3 separate regions of the Homo sapiens genome follow, and all the other regions are linked to region 3. The links are contacts of gene promoters, found by promoter capture Hi-C in blood cells and fetal thymus (Javierre and others, 2016). All regions are on one chromosome and are shown on one strand. The core of a region is centred on a gene start or on the middle of the fragment in contact, and the rest is flanking DNA. Distances in the headings are between cores, read along the strand shown.

The links. The method cuts DNA at HindIII sites, captures the fragments that hold promoters and counts their contacts. A CHiCAGO score of 5 or more calls a contact.
Region 1: the fragment with the promoter of PLEKHF2 here is called in contact with a fragment that was not itself captured in region 3 in 1 of 17 cell types (non-activated CD4 T cells); the score reaches 6.6 in non-activated CD4 T cells.
Region 2: the fragment with the promoter of MTDH here is called in contact with a fragment that was not itself captured in region 3 in 2 of 17 cell types (fetal thymus and naive CD8 T cells); the score reaches 6.6 in fetal thymus.

What each region holds. Positions count from the first base shown.
Region 1 is chr8:95,132,185-95,135,079 of GRCh38, forward strand. It overlaps PLEKHF2 (pleckstrin homology and FYVE domain containing 2), which reads left to right and starts at 1,601. Exons shown (of 2, transcript NM_024613.4): 1 at 1,601-1,846. RefSeq lists silencers at 1,343-1,982, 2,003-2,162. The HindIII fragment of the contact is 9,547 bases long and covers 1-2,895 here.
Region 2 is chr8:97,642,910-97,645,609 of GRCh38, forward strand. It overlaps MTDH (metadherin), which reads left to right and starts at 1,275. Exons shown (of 12, transcript NM_178812.4): 1 at 1,275-1,978. The coding sequence starts at 1,598. RefSeq lists silencers at 863-972, 1,153-1,612, 1,883-1,952, 2,236-2,404 and enhancers at 1,125-2,105, 2,106-2,700. The HindIII fragment of the contact is 3,502 bases long and covers 490-2,700 here.
Region 3 is chr8:109,535,871-109,538,707 of GRCh38, forward strand. PKHD1L1 (PKHD1 like 1) reads left to right here. Exons shown (of 78, transcript NM_177531.6): 78 at 1-1,337. Among named protein-coding and RNA genes, the nearest start is that of EBAG9UORF, 2.4 kb to the right of the region's middle. The HindIII fragment of the contact is 518 bases long and covers 1,242-1,759 here.

The DNA of each region.
Region 1 (2,895 bases), core at 351-2,850, about 14 Mb before region 3:
TAATTCATTTCATCTGCATAATGACTCTGTGATATACTTTTATTATCTCCATTTTACAAGTGAAAAAACCAAAGTTATCTTTGGATGTGCCAAGGTTGTTAGAGACAAAGCCAATGTTTGATTACAGTCATTCTGGCTTCTATCTATGCACTTTACTTAAGCTAAATAAGTACATGGGAAGTGAGGAGGGCAAACATTTTTACTAATGTGAGTGACCAAAAATATTTGATAACTAATGCTCTAGGCTTGACCTTAGACAACCAGTCAGACATAGCAATTCCTACTTTCAAAATTTAAAAGGATTTTAGGCATTATTTAGTCCTGCCTTTTCCCCACTGATAGATATTGCTGTGCACGTAGAGGTGAATGAGGTAGAGTGATGGTACGGACAAGCGTCCTGGTGACATCTGTACTCATCTAGAGACAACTCTAACACACGAAAGATTGTGTGTGTGTGATCATACAATTTTCCCCATTTAAAAAAAGTTCATCTTTGCCAATTTTGTTCTAATTATTAATTTAAAAAAAGACTTGTTTGTTTCAGAGACAAACTCTATTGAAATAGGGGAGGATAGGAGGCAACAAGCCTGGAGGAGGAAGATCCCAGGTGGAAGAGCAGGGCGGAACCCAAGTCTGCTCTCATCCCTAGGTGCTCATCCACGTGCAGCTTGGCTGGTAGTGACTCTAATTCAACAGCAATCAAACACAGGTTAAAACAACTTACTGAAGTAATAGATGAATAAGAAATATAAAATTTACCAAAACCCAATTTCCTCCTACACACCACACACACTTTGTTTAAAATAAGTATGCTGTTCTCCCTACTTCGCCCCCATCCCTAGTCTACCCTAAGCAACTTCGTTACCTCTCTACGAACCCATCAGAGCGCTTAGCTATCAGATCAATTAGGGCACATTTAACCTTATATACTATGCAATAATTACAGTTTCTAGGTATGTGAAGTAGGCTGATGGGGTTTTGTGTCGTCAAAGTTTTGGGAAGACCAGAATTCTAAAGTATGCATTTAAAAGAAAGGGCTGGGTGGAGCACGTAGGGTATGTGTGTGTCGCCGCAGTTCCCTTGGTTTCAAGAGGAGGGATTTTAGGTAAAGCAAAGGGAAAGTGTGACGGAAAGGATTGCTGTGCTAAATGGGAGCAGCAAATGCCAGTACCGATGCCTTTGGGCATTTAGATCCAAAGCCTGCCTTTCTCGTTCTTCAGTTCCCCGGGGAGGCCTGTTGTGGGTGGGGAGGTGTCTTCCTTCTATTATTCCAGTCTCCCTAAGAACTTCGTAGACAGTTGAGCAATACTTTCTAAGGGCTGGTCGGAGTCAGGAAAGTCAGGTAAGGCGCCTCACGTGCACCTCAACGCGTCGCGGGAGCGCGTCCCGACCTCACACATGGACAAGCTCCGCCCGCGGCCGGCCTGAGTGGGTGTGGCCTCCGCCAAAGGCCCCGCCCCTAGAGCGCGTCGCGAGGGGCGCGAGGGGCGGGGCGAGGGAACTGGCAAGAAAGGGCGGGGAGCGAGGGGTGTGGGTGTGCTCGTGCCCGCGCGCTCGCGCCCGGAGTGTGGACGGGGGCGCGCCCGTGCGCGCGCAGGGGAGAGGCCAGCCCAGGCAGCCGTTGTCGGGTTCGACTGGAGGGGCGGGGGAGTCACCTGCGAGCGGCTGCGCTGGCGGCCAGCCCGCCCACCGCGTCTGGATCGCGCCGGCTGCGCGGGGCTGCGGACAGCACACACCCTGGAAGGCCCCGGCGGGGAACGGGCAGAGTCCGCGCCCTGCGTCCGCGACCAGGAGGATCGGACCTTCGCCTTCGCTGTCGCCGCCGCCGCCGCCCGCGGCCGTCGGGGTAGGTGAAGCCCGGGTGGGTGGTCCGCCGGCTCCTGACGGGCCGGGAGGGGAGACGCGAAACTTTCCGGGCGCTTCCTCCCGCGGTCCCGGAGCCGTCGCAGCGCCGGGAGGTGTCGTCGTCGCGGGCGGTGGCGGCCGACGCCATGTTGGGGTCTGTGAGAAACGGGGCGCTCCCGGCCGCTCCCCTCGCGCCGGGGCCGGCCCGCGGGCCAGTTGCCGCCGCCGTCCCGCCAGCCCGGGAGCGAGCCGCGCCCGCCCGTAGGACGCCGCCGCCGCCGCGGGGGGACGGGGGCCGCCGGGTAGGGTCCGGTCCACGGGTCTGCGGGGCGGGGGCCGGCGGACGCGGGAAGGAGCCCCGAGGCCGGGCGAGAAGTTGTGGGGCCTGAGGACGGGGGTCCTGGACACGGCCGGGGGCGTCTCAGGGTCGCGACAAATTTCTGGCCGAAAAGTTTGCAGGGTCTGCGTGTCGGGGACCTTATGACCTGAACTACATATTTGTATGTCACTTGGGAGACGAAAATGGCCCCGCAGAACTTGCTCTGATAGAAGCGATGGTTTATTTATTTGGAGCCTTTTCAAGTTTTATGATCCTTTGACGAATTTATTTTTCTTTTTAAAAATGTGATTGAAGGCCGAGAGCGCGCTGCCGGTGTTGCTTGAATAGCCTTGTGTGCTCTCCGTACATTCCAGCAATAACTTGAGTGTGCGGTGGAAGTGGGTATGAAGGTTACAGACACCTAAGCCCTCCTCGGTAATTCATAGACTCACAAAACGCGTTGTTGATAAATGCCTTCTTTGTCGTGTTGTGTAGTACGTTGCTGAAGAGACTCATTAAAGAAAGATTTAGACAGAAACTTTGAGAGTCTTAAAGGCATGTGTTCTCTTAAGAATAAGAAGTGATCTTGACAGTTTGAAGTTTTTTTCCCCTCCCTTTAGTTTCTTAAGGGTGAATGCCTACCGCGTTTTGAGCATTTACTTTTTTTAAATACTCTGGCAGCTCGTGGGGTCTTCACGTTAATTCAGTATTAACGAAGGCTTCATTATAAT
Region 2 (2,700 bases), core at 25-2,524, about 12 Mb before region 3:
ACCGATAAAATACAGAGTTTCCTTATAGCAAAATATAATCTTAAAACCCTAAGGCAGCCTTCAAGCATTTCCCTTATAATTAAAACCTGAAGGCCTGGCGTGGTGGCTCACGCCTGTAATCCCAGCACTTTGGGAGGCTGAGGTGGGCGGATCACGAGGTCAGGAGATCAAGACCATCCTGGCTAACACGGTGAAACCCCGTCTCTACTAAAAATACAAAAAATTAGCCGGGCGTGGTGGTGGGTGCCTATAGTCCCAGCTGCTCGGGAGGCTGAGGCAGGAGAATGGCTTGAACCCAGGAGGCGGACCTTGCAGTGAGCGGAGATAGTGCCACTGCACTCCAGCCCGGGCGACAGAGCGAGACTCTTGTCTCAAAAAAAAAAAATTTGAAAAGGCAGTTCGTTTCCTTCTATAGCTGCATCCCAGAGATGGTCAACATAGCATATAAAAATGGAATTTTTGCAAACCCCTTTTGCAGTGTTGTAGAAAAGCTTAAAATAAAACGTAACGAGAAAGCTCCCTCCATAAGTAAATACAATCTAATGTGCTTCCCCTTATGTGTTATTAAAGCTACAAATTAGTAGGAAAAGAATAGTGCCGCCCACGGGCTTTCCAACTTTTGAATTCTGGGGACTAACAACAGAGAGCAAGAGTGAATGAGCCAAACGACGCAAACGTGCCCTCGCCAGGCTGGCAACTGGTAGGCACGCAGTGTATTAGTTGCCCTGGAGAGAAACACCCTGGAGAGAAATACCCAATTTGTGAACTAAACCTAGGTCCCGGAAGAACAGTGTTCGGCGTCAGACTCCGTTGAGCTCATTCTGGAAGGATCCAACTGGCGCCACCAGGGAGAAAAAGCGATTCCACCTCAATAACACTCCAGAAAAAGGCATGAAGAGCCCTATACCTGCCAGGGCGACTTTGACCTAGACCCGGTGACCCGGTTCCTAGCGCTGCAGCCCTACCCGCCCCCCGCCCGCCCCCGCCTTGCACGGAGCCCCTCCTCTGTACTCATTCGTTGCGCCACGTCTCCTAACTCTGCGCCACCAGCCACCCCGCGAAGGCGTCCACCAATTAACCCCTCCCAGCTTCTGGTCTACAGTAACGGGTCCCCAACGCCGCGTCTTAACCAGGCCCGAACCGACCACCGCCAACCTTCCCTGACACGCCTTTGCCCCACCCGACCCCGCCCGCCCCCACGTGACGCCCACGCCCCGCCCACTGGCGCCCACGTGACCCACGGTCGTCCCCGCGCGCGGCGTGGATCGCGGCCCAAGCCGCCATTGTTCCGCCGAGGGAGGACAGCGGGGCCTGGCGCTGGCGCCGAGACGCCGCTTAGCGGCCGCCACTGGAGACACTCCCTCCCGCCTCCCGGGTCTCCTGGCGGCGGCGGAGTGAGGCTGACAGCGGGGAACCTGGGAGACCCCTCCGCCCTCCCCGCGGTGGCAGCGGCCGATCCCCGGCTCCGGCGCGAGGGACGGCCGCGATGCGCTCGGCCTGAGGTTACCCGGCCCGGCCCTTCCTCGCTTCCCTCGACTATTCCACTGCGTCTCCGCGCCCCGGCGTCATCCTGCGAGTCCCTCTGACGGGAGGGAAGATGGCTGCACGGAGCTGGCAGGACGAGCTGGCCCAGCAGGCCGAGGAGGGCTCGGCCCGGCTGCGGGAAATGCTCTCGGTCGGCCTAGGCTTTCTGCGCACCGAGCTGGGCCTCGACCTGGGGCTGGAGCCGAAACGGTACCCCGGCTGGGTGATCCTGGTGGGCACTGGCGCGCTCGGGCTGCTGCTGCTGTTTCTGCTGGGCTACGGCTGGGCCGCGGCTTGCGCCGGCGCCCGCAAAAAGCGGAGGAGCCCGCCCCGCAAGCGGGAGGAGGCGGCGGCCGTGCCGGCCGCGGCCCCCGACGACCTGGCCTTGCTGAAGAATCTCCGGAGCGAGGAACAGAAGAAGAAGAACCGGAAGAAACTGTCCGAGAAGCCCAAAGTGAGTATGGGATGAGCGGCAGTAGAGAACGGGCGAAGGGCGGGCGTGGAGACCCTCGAGCTTGGGGGAGGCCGCGCCCCAGCCGGGAAGGAAAAGAGTGCTTAGTCGAAAGCCGAGAGGCAGCACTCCCAAGTGGAGGAGGAGGTGATAGGTGGTCATGTTATTTGGGGAATGGGGGGAACTCAGGAAGTATAGGACGAGTGGGGAAGCCCAGTTTCGAGGAAGGAAGTTAGGAGGTCTGGGGGTCCGTTCAGATAGGCGCCCAGAGGTCAAGCCATCTTTGGGAACCGTCACCGCTAGAATAAGCACAGCATCCTTCCTTGAGGCCTGCAGAGTAGGCTGCATGTGGAGCGTAATGGGACCTTAAGGTGGTGTTAGGAAGTTGTATAAAGACTGCGCTCGGAAGACAGATGTCTATCTCAAGTCACATTGAGACAGTAGGCAGTGGAAGAAGTGCGGTGACCTAGAAATTCTGGGGCTTACACAGGATTAAAGGTGTCCAGGTCTAGACGCGCTTCCATTTTAGTTGGGACTGTTAAAGGGAAATGGTTGCCCATTCTTGTTCTGGCAAATGTGGCCAACAGAGGCCGGAACGGGAGCAAGGCAAGAGGGGGTCGGTTACCTAATACGCTTTGAGGTGTATGGTCCTGTGAGAAAGAGCTAAGGCGAGTTCAACGAACGAGTCTGTTGCACACTCTGTGGCGTGGTAGATTTGTGAAATA
Region 3 (2,837 bases), core at 251-2,750:
AAATATCCCATGAGTAGTACATAAAAGCCTGGAGAGAGAGGGGAAGGATTGTAAGTGTCATAGTTCTGACAGCTGCTCTTTCATCCTATGCCTTTAAAACAAAGGGAACAAAGAAGGGAACAAAGAAGGTAGAAGCGGGGGTATGGAGGGTTGACTTCTGGCTGTCCCTCCCTGTTTCCCTTTGTTAATATATTGCTAGTAGACATGTCTACTTCTGGTTGCTGATGACATAAAATTCACCTCTATTTCTTGGAAGCACTATTCCATGTTGTGAGCTAAAGGGGATTGTACTGATCTTGAAGATAACAAATCTGCCTGCTTCAAAGGTTTCACCGATTTTATTGCTGTGTTTCCAACACATTTCCACATATGGTATGATATTTAATTTGCAAAATAAATCCGTAAAGCAGGAATTACTAACCTAATTTTGCAGATGAGAAAACTGAGGCTTAAAGTTGTTCAAGGTCAAAGTCACGATGTCCATCATGCTGTAGCTCAATGAATGAGTCTCACATTGTTTCATGTTGTTTTATTTCTACTTTCTCAATCCATGTACAAGATAGATTTACAAACTACTGTTTTATGTTGGTTGTATGAATTTCAATACATTTACTGTTAGAAATAACAAAAGGTCTTAGACTGCCAGATGCTGTTCCCATCAACTCTACTTAATTCATAATATAGCTGAACTCTGTCATAAATCTAATAACGATGTGGACATTAGCCAGAAGTATGATGTGGCTGAACCTCACCACTGAACACAAAATGAGAATTCACCTCATCTTTTCATTTGAATTTATTTCTACTAAAATATATGTATTATTTTTCTTGATTTCTAACCAGGCCCCTTCTGAAGAAAACTGGTTAACTCTAAATTGTTACTAAATTTTGAATCTTCCTGTATTTAGCAATAAAAGTTACTGCTAATTGTAATAACAATTATGAGGAAAAATTTATTTAAATGCTTCATAGAAAGTTAATTTTCATTTAATAGAAAAGAAATAAAAAATCTGCTTCAGACTGTTTGATTTCTCTATTAGGCAATTGACCCTAACTAGTATATGGTGATTTTGAGTATTAAAAAAGAAGTTATAATTTTCCAGAATATTAATGTTTATTATTTTGAAAGCAAGTAAAATTCTCCAGTAGGAAGATTAATAAAACAATTCATTAAAATTCTCATCAGAAAATCCTATGCTTTCAAATGTATCTGCTCAAAGATGTCACTCTATGTGCGGCAAAGCTTTGTTTTACTTGATCAAGAAATGAATGTGACTTTATGATCTTGTATTCAACTGTGAACAGCTGCTCATTAATAAAAAGCCATTAAAGTCCAAGTCAGAACAGCAGGTCTAAAATTGTGTTTGAGGGAAAAAAAACCCACCCTTTGATGAAAAGCCAGGGAACTGGGTTGGGAAAGATCTGGAAGCAGAGGGCTGTGTTTGCAGTCTGCTCCTACCTCCTGGGCCAGGTCAGGTGACAAGGCCAGAGTTAGCCCCAGCTGGAGAAGTCAGAACAAAGCCTATGTAGGCTTTGAAAGGGGAGAGTAAGTGGTGGGCTGGAGGTTGATAGTGTGAATAAATCAAGCTGGTAATTGGGCAGAGGCTGATCAGAAGCGTTAAAGTGAGCAAAATGGTTTGGACACAGAGCAGACAGAATTTACTATATTCCATTGAGTAAAAGAAATTCATATGCCAGGTTCTATCCCTTATGTTCCTCCCATTTGACATCTGGTGGTTTCCTACCCCCGTCCCACACAAGCTTTGGGGAGAGGACAGGACTTAAAGTTCCCTGTTCCCAAGAGGTGGTCCCTAAACCCAATCCCAAATTATTGACTTGTGATCCCAATTATGGGCTTACTATTTAACAAGTAAAGATGATTTTAAAATATTATTTTATAGGTATTACTAAAGTAAATTTTAAATTTGCAGTCTTTAGCGAGCTTTGTTTTCTGTTTTGCTATTGTGTTGGGAAACAAGTACTCAGTAACTAGCTGTTTCTGGAAAAGTATATACATTTCGTTTTGTTTCATTTGGAAATGGCAAATTTAATAAAGAAAACTGAAGAATCAGGAAAAAGAAGAAAATATCCTTGGGCATAATAAATTGTCTAAAGCAATCAACTCTTTAAGAAAAAAAATTTAAACACGTTTATATCCGAATATAGGTTATTTTGGATTTTTTTTTTTTTTTTTTTTGAGTCAGGGTCCTGCTCTGTCTCCCAGGCTGGAGTGCAGGGCCCAATCATGGCTCACTGTAGTCTCGACCTCCCAGGCTCAGGTGATTCTTCCCACCTCAGCCTTCTGAGTAGCTGGGACTACAGGCATGCGCCACCAAACCTGGCTAATTTTTAAATTATTTGTAGAAACGGAGTTTCGCCCGTTGCCTGGGCTGGTCTTAAATTCCTGGGCTCAAGCGTTCCTCCTGCCTCGGCCTCCCAAAGTGCTGAGATTACAGGCATGAGTTACCGTGCCCAGCTAGATAACTCGATTTTTTAAATCCAAAAAAAATTTAGAAATTTTATATTGAAATTTAGGCATTAGAATTCTAGAGATTAAAGTTAGAGCAGGTGTTTAAGGGACTGAAAGGGGTTGCATGGCCTTTGGGAAATGCAATTACCGGAAATGATACTGTAGTAATGCAATAGTAATGCAGTAGTAGTAGTAGCTGCAGCAACAACTGTTATCTATGAATGTTTGCTATGTGCCAGGCTCTGTGCTAAGAGAGCTTTGCAAGCATTACTACTGCATGAAGTAGGCACTATTATGGCCATTTTACTGATGAGGAAATTGAGGTGAACAGATTAAATAATTTTACCCAACTTTACACAGAACCATT